Regions from separate parts of the Homo sapiens genome. Here region 1 is linked to region 2. The links are contacts of gene promoters, found by promoter capture Hi-C in blood cells and fetal thymus (Javierre and others, 2016). All regions are on one chromosome and are shown on one strand. The core of a region is centred on a gene start or on the middle of the fragment in contact, and the rest is flanking DNA. Distances in the headings are between cores, read along the strand shown.

Evidence for each region. The method cuts DNA at HindIII sites, captures the fragments that hold promoters and counts their contacts. A CHiCAGO score of 5 or more calls a contact.
Region 1: a contact is called between a fragment that was not itself captured here and the fragment with the promoter of PHF20L1 in region 2, in 1 of 17 cell types (total B cells). The highest score is 8.5, in total B cells.

What each region holds. Positions count from the first base shown.
Region 1 is chr8:125,088,030-125,093,274 of GRCh38, forward strand. It overlaps WASHC5 (WASH complex subunit 5), which reads right to left and starts at 3,763. Exons shown (of 29, transcript NM_014846.4): 1 at 3,586-3,763. It overlaps NSMCE2 (NSE2 SUMO ligase component of SMC5/6 complex), which reads left to right and starts at 3,831. Exons shown (of 8, transcript NM_173685.4): 1 at 3,831-3,929. RefSeq lists a silencer at 3,483-3,652 and an enhancer at 3,703-3,922. The HindIII fragment of the contact is 205 bases long and covers 1,482-1,686 here.
Region 2 is chr8:132,772,093-132,777,078 of GRCh38, forward strand. It overlaps PHF20L1 (PHD finger protein 20 like 1), which reads left to right and starts at 3,296. Exons shown (of 21, transcript NM_016018.5): 1 at 3,296-3,553. It also overlaps a transcript of TMEM71 not described here. RefSeq lists an enhancer at 3,025-3,526 and a silencer at 3,281-3,730. The HindIII fragment of the contact is 4,916 bases long and covers 2,409-4,986 here.

The sequences.
Region 1 (5,245 bases), core at 334-2,833, 7.7 Mb before region 2:
ATATCTGGGTATGGTCAGCAGCTTTCTAAAGTGGTCCCTAATGATCTCTGCCTCCTGGTATTCATGTTCTATGTAGGTTCCTTCCCTTGAGTATAAGCTGACTTACTGACTCCCTCCTAAAGAGGAGAATAGGGCCAGGTGTGGTGACTCACTCCTGTAATTCCAGCACTTTGAGAGGCTGAGGCACATGGATCACCTGAGGTTAGGAGAGCCGGGATCACCCCGGCTCTACTAAAAATACAAAAATTAGCCAGGCATGGTGGCAAAAACCTGTAATCCCAGCTACTCGGGAGGCTGAGGCAGGAGAATTGCTTAAACCCAGGAGGCGGAGGTTGCAGTGAACCGAGATTGCACCACTGCACTCCAGCCTGGGTGACAGAGTGAGACTTCATCTCAAAAAAAAAAAAGGGGGAGGGGGGGAAGGAAATAGGATAGAAACAAAAGATACAGTGCACTTCTGAGATTAGATTTCGAAAAGACTAACTTCTGGCTTGGGCACCCTCTGTAGCTTGCTAGTCCAGGGGAAGCAACATATCATGGTGTGAGAGAGCCCTGGGGAGAAGCCCATATGACAAGGAACTGAGGCTTGCCAAAAACCACCTGAGTGAACTTGAAAGTAGATCCCTTATAATCCCAGTCCAGCCTTCAGATAAGACCATAGCTCCTTGTTCCCAGCCTGACTGCAATGTTCTAAAAGCCCCAGAGCCAAAGGCAGCCAGCTATGCCCTACCCTCCGGACCATAGATGCTATAAAGCTTATTGTCTTAAGCCACTGGGTTCTGGCATAGTTTATTATGCAGCAATAGATAATGATCCTAATAATGGCATCCCAAGCAGAGGTTACAAGTAAGTGCAAAGGCCCCAGGGCAGGAATGTGCTAGATGGCTAGCAAGGTGGCTAAAGTGGCTGGAGCAGAGTCAGCTAGGGGCGGAAACAGAAGAAGTAGACTGGATTGGATCTGAGAGCCAAGAAGCCACTACAGCTGTCTAGAACTCCCATGAAGGTACCCTGTAATACACATTAAGGCATACATTATTAACAAGTTCTTTTAGTTTCCTCTGTGATACTTGCTTGTTAAACCACACTGATCTCTAACAGGCTGAATTTCAGATAATTTCATTTCATTTTCTGCATGGATATGGTCTGGCTTGGGAAAGCAGAGAGGGAAAGGGGAAATAATGGACAGTGGGCAAAACAGTCACATACTAAAGCCCTCTGAAGACCACCAAACTAACCCAGAAGGTCTAAGTAGGATGAAACTTTACACCAGGAGTGTCCAATCTTTTGGCTTCCCTGGGCAATATTGGAAGAAGAATTGTCTTGAGCCACACATAAAATACACTAACACCAAAAATAGCTGATGACCTTAAAAAAAATCGCAAAAAAATCTCATAATGTTTTAAGCAAGTTTACAAATTTGTATTGGGGCACATTCAAAGCCATTCTGGGCCGCATGTGGCCTGCAGGCCTCAGGCTACACAAGCTTGCTCTAGACTCATGAAGAGGAGGACAAGCTATGATTAACAGGTCCAATGGCTACCCGATTTGGGATACCATGACAGGGCAACAATGTGGCCCTGGGAAAAACAACTTAAAGCAAAGTAACATTACTTGCCCTTTACTCTACTCTCTCCCAACATACAGAAGGACAGACAGACTCAGCACCTGCATGCACACATTCGGGGAAGCTTCAGTCTGGGATAACGACAGAGATCAAGACTTTCGTGTGTCAATCTCTTGTTTTAATCCTTAGTCCCTTACTCAAGAATTACGCTGTAGACAACTTTAAAAGAACATGAGGAGGATAATAATAACCAAATATGTTCGGCAATAGTAAAACAAATATTATGGGTCTTTATTACCTAGGTAAATCACCTTTCTAAAATTCTATATATAAACTTTATATTAAATTTTTAATGCAAAAGCATATGAGTTATATTTAATATACTTTTACTGAAATGAACTCACTGCTTGTAATCTGTTTTGCCCCATGAAGGGCACTTGTGTTTTCTATTTCTAATAATGCAAGCATCTCCTGCTAAGTTTTTGAAGATGGAAGAAGTTAAAACAAGATTAGCTGAAAGAAGGAAATCACTTAGTTACATTTTATGTACTAGACCTCCTAACCCGGACTAGTTATATTTTCCATGTAACAAATGGAATTTCCATAATTTGTACAAATATAATTTGGCTAGAGTATTTGGTAAATAGCCCCCTCGTTGGCTGAAGGACTAGTCCTGAAGAACAGAATCTAAGAACCATCATTAAAAATGCCTAATCAAGTTGCAGCTAAGAGGTAGGTGGATGGCTTTACAAAGTGTTAAGACTCAGCTAAGTCTTAAAAAACCACTTTAGAATTAGGTCCAAATAAACACTGTAGAAGAAGCTATGTTAAATTATCCTTTCAGAGGTTCTCTTGGTGCTAGGGATCAAGAACACTTGAAGATCAGTTTTCTCAATACAGGCTATATTATTATTGGCATGAAATCCAGAGATCCCACTATATTTTCTTATTTTCTTTTACAAGTGCCGGTAACTTCATTTTTAATAATTTGGCGTGGAACTGTGATTTTCAGTTTGGGAAGTAATCCTAATCAAAAGACATGCTTTCAAGAATAAGGCATGACATCCTTACACCAATTACCCTGAGTACAGAATAATATTTCTTAAGGAAATCGAATTGTCGTGGACAAACAGTTTACCCTCTTCAGAGGACAAAAGAAGGCAGGTCTATTTTTAGCCTTTCGCAAAACCTCAGTTCCATAAAGGAAGCACTGGTCTCCACAAATCCATTATCACAAACAAAATATAACGGTTGCTGATCAAGATAAATGCAAGCTGCATATATTTTCCAGAAAAGTTCTGAAATGAGGCTGAACCTGAAATCCTGGGAAAGGCAGGTGAAGGACAATTAGAGAAGGTGTCCCTTGTAGTGCACAAAGACAGTAAAACTTCGCCCTCACTACGCCTCACCTATGTTTGAGGGAGCTCCATGCGCTTGCAATCAGGAGACCCAGTTTTATGGCTCTGTGACTTTTTTTCTTTCTCCTGTCCGATCATAATCCTGATTCCGATCCCAGGAATCAGGGCCCTGGGAACTTTTTTTTTTTCCCCCAAATGCAAAGGATTTTGACATCAGTATGTCACAGGTGAAGGCATTAAGGCGCGGCGAGCAGCAATGACTTGCCCAAACTCACAGCCCATGGCATAACTAGAATGCAAATCCACGTCTGTCAGCCTGTAAAAGTCCTCACTACTAGCCTTTCAGTTTTCTCAAAAGCAAAGAGAAATAACGACGACATCCATACAGCAGTGTTCCCGGAAACTTGGAAGGATGAGATTCGGACCAAGCAGCTGAACGGTGCTTCCTAAAGCGAGGAAGGGGTGTGCAAAATGATTTCCCCCTAAGCGGAGACGAAGAGCTGGATTACAGCCCCCGCCCCAGAAAGCCCCTAAGCCCTCCATCCCGAGTCCCCCATCCAGGCTGCACGCGACTCTGCAGACCTCCCCGTGGCCAGCGCGGCCCAGCGGGGAGGGGAAGGGGGCCATGCAAAAATGGGGCGCGCTCACTCCATCCCCACTCACCTGTCAGCCGGGCCGCGCCACGGCGCACGCGCAGGGCCGGAGGTCGCGCGCGGAGCCGGCACCCAGTTTCCACCCCTCCCTCAAGGCGGCGGTCCTCTTCTATCCGCAGTCCCGGACCTGGAGCGGGTCAGACCCCGACTTCCGCCCCTGACTCCCCAGGCGGTCACATGACCGAAGCGGCTGGGAGCAGGGAGGGGCATCATGTGACCACTCGCCGGCGACGGCTGATGACGCAAGAGCCCGCTCTCACTTTTCAGCGGCAGGCGAAGGGGGCTGAGGAAAGGAGGTGGGTCTAGGCAGGGGAAATTGGGGTGCCACCAGACGGAGACAGCTTGGACTACCAGGTAGGGAAGAAGCGGGGGACGGCAATGGGGAGGGTGGCAGGAGTTTCGCCACCCTCAGGGACACTCCACGGGGACTCCGAGCCGGGGGTCCGTCTACCCGGATTATGGTTGTGGAACTTTTCACGCCACGGTAGTGAGTCTGGGACAGTTTACCCTCCTGTCCGAGACGCCATCTCTCCATCCTTTCGCCTCAAGTGTGTAGGGGCAAGATTACGAATTTTTGATCCAAATAGATTTTGTTTGAACTGACTTTAAAAGTAAGGCCACGGGAAGGTCGTTTGAATAAACTCTCTGGACCTCAATTTCCTCTTCAGTTATGTAGATTGCAGTGAGAATTAGCGATAAGGAGAATAAAGTGCCGGGACACCAGTTTATGGCATTCTGTAGGTGACCGAGAAATGATGATGTCTGTTGTTATTTTTGTAACTGGCCAAATCTTTATTGGTCCCCTATTTTGTGTGAGGAATTGCTTTATATGCAATAGAATATGTCAGGGTTCTAGTTTAAGGAGGTGTCAGTTTAAAGAAGCTGCAGACATGTGAGCAAATAGTTGTGATGAGTTTCATAATAGGAGTGTGTTGTGTACATGTGCATGTGATAGGGATAATGGTAGCATGAGGGAGGGAAAAGCAATTGTATGAGAAGGATTCAGAGAGAAGGGATTATCCTTGCATGTTGAAAAAGGAGAGGCAGCTCTGGCTGACTTGTACAAGGCTCCCATGGATTTAAAGGAAGTCAACATATTGTCTATAAATAACATGCAGAGAAAAAACTCAGGAAATGCACAACTTGTTCTAAACTTTCTTGGAGATCATAGGTACCGGGAAGAAAAAGATCAGTGTTATTACCTGGGGAGGGATCCAAGAGAGATTGATTTAAACCAGTTATTCTCAACTGATGCACTATTGACATTTTAGGCCAGATAATTTTTTGCTGTGGGGTCAGGGTGAGGGCTGTCCTGTGTTTTGTAGGATGCTTAAGAGCATCCCTGGCCTCTGCCCGCTAGATGCCAACCACAAAGTCTACAGATACTGCTAAATGTCCCCTTGCGAGAGGGGTAAAATCCTTCTTGGTTGAGAACCACTTAAACCAAGCCATGAAAGATGGTATCTTAGTCAATGTGGGCTTCTGTAACGGAAATGCCATAAACTAGGTAGCTTATGAACAACAGAAATTTATTTCTCACAGTTCCGGGGCCTGTTTCCTGGTTCATAGGTGGCTTCTTGCTGTGTCCTCACATGGTGGAATGGCAAAGCAGCTATCTGGAGCATCTTTTAAAAGGGCACTAATCTTATTCATGAAAGTGGGCCTCATCA
Region 2 (4,986 bases), core at 2,046-4,545:
TATTAAGTAAACACACAAAAAATAGCTATCTTGTGTTTTATTTGTAATCAAGGAGTATCTGGTATTTAGTAGTAACTTTTTTTCCTACCTTAAAATAGGTATACATTTGTTAAATATTCCAGGAGACATTATGGTTCCATATTCATATTTTTAATGTTGGAGGAATTTAGTTCAGTGATTTCTGCCTAACAACTGTTGTTTCAAGATAATTTGCTCACTGCTTGTTTGGTTCTGCTCAAACACAGCTGTAAGTTCTTTCTTTCTATATTTGGAGATGGAGTGACTGATGGCTGGGCATCAACCATCTGGAACAGGGTGTGCTGGGTGGAAGAGAGGAGAAGGGACAGATCAATGCACGGCTTCACTACATGGCCAGGGAGTCAGTACTAGAATTTTGTATATCCTGTATCCCTACTCTGATCCTGACCTTTGACTCTATGTGGTTAAAAGAGGAAATGACATCCTACCTGAATTTTTTGTCAGTTTTATCAGGCTTAGTGCCTTCCTTTTAGAGTCAATATTATATTCACACCCTCTCCACTTCCCAAAATTAACTTCATAAATAACATAACCAAGCTATACATATATACTTAAAAATCAATATGACTATGATAATATAAAAAATTTATGAAAATAATTCATAAAAATCATATATATTTCAATACTTAACATTCATCCATGTATCACAGAAATATATAATGAAGTAGTGAGGTGCTTGTATCTAAATTTAGATTTCCCTAAATGTAACAGCTACGCAACTAGACTGACACAGGTGCATTCTATCAGTGCCTCAAATACTATGAGTAATTAGCCGTTGGTGGCATGATATTTTAAAATGAGATAGACTCTTGATAATGTTCAGAAAAAAGGTCAGTGTTTCCTTACATTACACAGTTGCTTCATTCCTGTAAAATTTAATGTATATTAAAACCTTCCAAAAATACTTATATGTGAAATGCAGTTCTAGGCAGGGACAATTATAAACAGGTTTTTCACCTACATGAATGTCTGGAAGGACATCTAGAAGTCATGCATGACCTGGGGCAATTCTTCAAGGTATGGAACTGCACTGTGCATTTCAGGATATCTAGCAGCCCTGGTCCCTTCCCACTAAATAGTAGCAGTGCCCTACCCCAATCCTGAGACAATAAAATACCATCCTCCATTTCCAAAGTGCCCTCTAGGGGACGGTATTAACTCCACAGAGGATTACTAAGCCTATACAATTCACTGAAGCTAGGGATCATTTACATAAGACCTTATTTTATTTTTTTCTTTCAAGTGTCATTATTGGAAGACCCATTGTCAAGTTCCAATTAAAATGGAACAATCATCTTTCCAGGGTGGATTCTCAACAAATAGTTGGGAGAATGGACAGAATCTGTTGTTCTTTATGTATGTATTTTATTTAAATTGCAAATAACCTCAAGTTTTTAGTGGTGTATAATAATAGATATTTATTTTTTCTCAGTCACTAGCTTGTGATTCAGCAGGGGTTCTGCCAGAGTTCAGAAAGATTTAACTCCAGGCTGACCATCAGAAACTTGAATACTGGTACTGCCACAGATGTGGGAGAAAAGTTTCCTTATTTTGAACATCATTAGCAACTTCTGATACAAAGTCCTTGGTAAAAGAGTTTTACTTGAGGCTAGAACTTTAGCTGCAAGGGAGACTGGAAACATGAGTTTCTGATATTTTCATCTTATTTAGTGGGAGGTTGATTCTGCATCCAAGATTCATAAGGTGGATGTATCATTTAGTTTGGGTAGGATTATGCCATGTAACAAACAATCCAGCACCCAAATCTCCATAGTTAAAATAATAAATATTTATTTTTTTCCTTATACAACACAGTAGTTGTAGATTATCAGTGAGGCCTTGGTTCATCATAATCTGTCTAGAACCTGGATGGTAGAGCAGCTATCATCTCAAGCAGTGCTTTACACTGTGCCAGAGACAGAAACTTTGGTGAGCTGGCATTAAAAATTACCAACTGGCCATGACAAATCTCACTTCTAATTACATTTTATCAGCCAAAGCAAATCAAATAGCCATACATAATTCTAAGGAGGGTGGAAAGTATAATCCTGTCATGTCCTAAGGAAGATGCTACAAGTATTTGGTGTTCTGAACTAATGCAACCATGATGAGAAATTTCTCAAACATGGAAAGAGAGTTGAGATGCTGGGCAACCAAAAAACAAGATAACAAATATCCACTAGAGACTGTCTTATTTATATCTTTTCTATAACAAATATCCACTAGAGACTGTCTTATTTATATCTTTTCTATGTATCACCATGCTCAGTCTAGCTCAGTAGCTATTAGTGACTTAGTAGATGCTGAATGAATGTTTGTTGAATAAAAAAAGAATGATTGTTTAATTTACCAAATCTTACTATAACTGAAGCTTAAAGAGAGTTACTTTGCTATTTTAACTCCACACTATGAAGCAAGATAAATATAAGTGACATTTGTATGCAACGTTGCACTTGAAAACCAGAGTGGTACAGTGGAAACCAAGAGAAAAAAGATGTTTCATTTCAATATTATTTTCAATGTGTTCACTTATTGGTTTCTCCCCACAGCAAGGATACTGTCTCCTGTGCTTAGTAAAGTTTGGGAGGGTAGGTATTCGATAAAAGCAGTTCTGCTATCATTAGCTGTGTAGTCTTGGGGAAGTGATATCAATGTAGCCATAGGTTAAGGTTATTCAGCTGTGCCTGAGCACGCGCGTACACACATCTTAGTAATATTCGTCTTTGTATTGTAAAGATCTCCAAGACTGGAAAGCAATACAATTGTAATACAGTTGTACAGTTGTGATTGTCATGTGACATATTTACAGCCTAGTGTCTATCACAAAGCATCCATTCAAGGGAGGTTTATTGATTTTGTAGTAGTAACCATGCTCTATTCTTGATGTGGAGTGGGATGGATATCTAAGAAAGCATGTAATGCATTTGAAAAAGTTTGCCAAGGGTCCTGGGTAAAGGGGTTTTGGTGACGTGGTTCCCAACGAATCAAGAATAATAAACAATGCCCTTCGTCCTCAAATCTCAAAGGTCAAATACTTCACAACTACCAATAGGCACCAAGAGCTCGCGTTCTTTCCTCCAGTAACCAGAGCCCCGCCCGCTAGCGGTCCGTCAACGACCGCAAAGCCCCGCCTCCTACGGCGGCCCGCCAATCGGCTGCGCGGCCCGGGCCCAACCCTCGTGAGTCACGTGACAAGGCCAGGCCCGCTTCCGGCACGTCGCGGGCGGCTGACGTCGCCGGGGCCCGGCGTCGCGTCAGGGCTGGCCGGCGGCGGAGGCGGCGGCGGCGGCGGCGATGGCAGCGGACCCTGAGCGAGCTTGAGGGCTCGGACCCAGCTCCCTCCCGCGAAACCTTGGGCGGATCCGGCGCTGCGGCCCCAGCTCGCTCCGCTCCTGCTCCCTCCCCGGCCGCTGCCTGGGCGGAGGCAGAGGCAGAGGCCCGGGCTGGCCGCCCTGCTCGTGCCCCAGCTCGGCCCCGGACGGCCCGGCTGCTGTGCAGAGAGGAGGCCGAGTCGGTAAGAGGCGGCGGCGGCTGAGCCGGCAGGCCGCCTGGCCCCCGCCGGGCCGCCCGGGACGCCCCCATTCTGGTGTCTCTCTTTCCGGCCCGCTCCCCTCCCGCCTCCCTCCCCGTAACTCGCCGGCCCTATTGTCTGGGCGCCGCAGCTCCCTCTTCCCCTCCCTTCCTTACCCCCCTGCGGAGGGCCGGATGGCTGTCAAACCTGGAGGCTTCTCCAGCTCCCTGCCAGCCCTGTCAGCCTTTCCTGCCTGTCTCGTGCCACCCCCTCTCTGTCTGGCCTCACCTCCTCACCTTTTTTGGCCTGGCGGTCATTCTCTGACCATTGCTTTACATTGTCGGTCTCTATGTCTTCTTGCTCATTTCTTCTTCCCTCTAACTTGTCATCTCCGAAAACTTCCACTGTCCTATTTCTTGCCATTCTTTGCTCCTTTCCTTACTGTTTTTACTCCTCTCCGTGCTTTCTGCCTTGTTTTTGCTTCAAGTTTTACTCCCAGTAGACTGTCTTACTTTATGAAAGTTCCTTAATTCAAATCCCTCTTCATCCTTCCCTCTTCGAACCTAAGACAAAGGAAAATCTTGTTTTTTTTCTGGTACTTCATCCCTAAGTGTCACTGGGGGATTATACTCATTCAATCCATCACTTAATTATGGGCTCTAAGTTTGATTCTAGATGTTAGTGTACCTTGTGAACTATCCCTTACTGAATTCTTCCTGTGACAGACAGCAGAAAAGGTTGATTCGATTTCTACACAAACATTTAAGTAACTGCCTTACGTGTTGCGCACTGACAAGACCTCTATTAAAAATATTCATACATTTGTTCTTTTGCACCAGCTACACCCTGGGCAAGCTCCCTGTTAACTTTTTAATGCTCTAATATTTGCTTATACCATAGCAGGAGGATACCCACTCTCCCCCTCCAACCATGGGTATTTGAGTTCGCATATTTTCATGGCCAGTATTGATGCTATTTTTTCCCTTACCTATCAGACTCTTTCAAAGAGAAAAGAGGGAGCAGTTGGAATTTTATGTTTGTTGTTCTATTTTGTCTATTATGAATTGTGACAAAACCATTATAAAAGATGACAAGTGTGTGTGTTTCTTTTTTTCTTTTTAAACTGTAGGGAACATAGTCATTAGTGATCTCAAATACCGAAAGACATTTTACGGATCTCTCCTCGCCCCTGATAACAATCAATTTACATTCTTAATTATGAGTTATGTTTTGATTAGGTTATCTCAAAATGTATTCATATTCCTCACATACCCATTAGTGAAAAAGAGGCCACCTCAAGTGTGCTCGGTGGCCACTGTGGCCCAAAATATAGTACTTTGCATGTGAATGACCTAGGGATACATAGGTACTCCTTTGCAGTTTTTGTTCTAGCATTACAACCACTTTTATTATCAATGTGGACACTGTCTAAATTG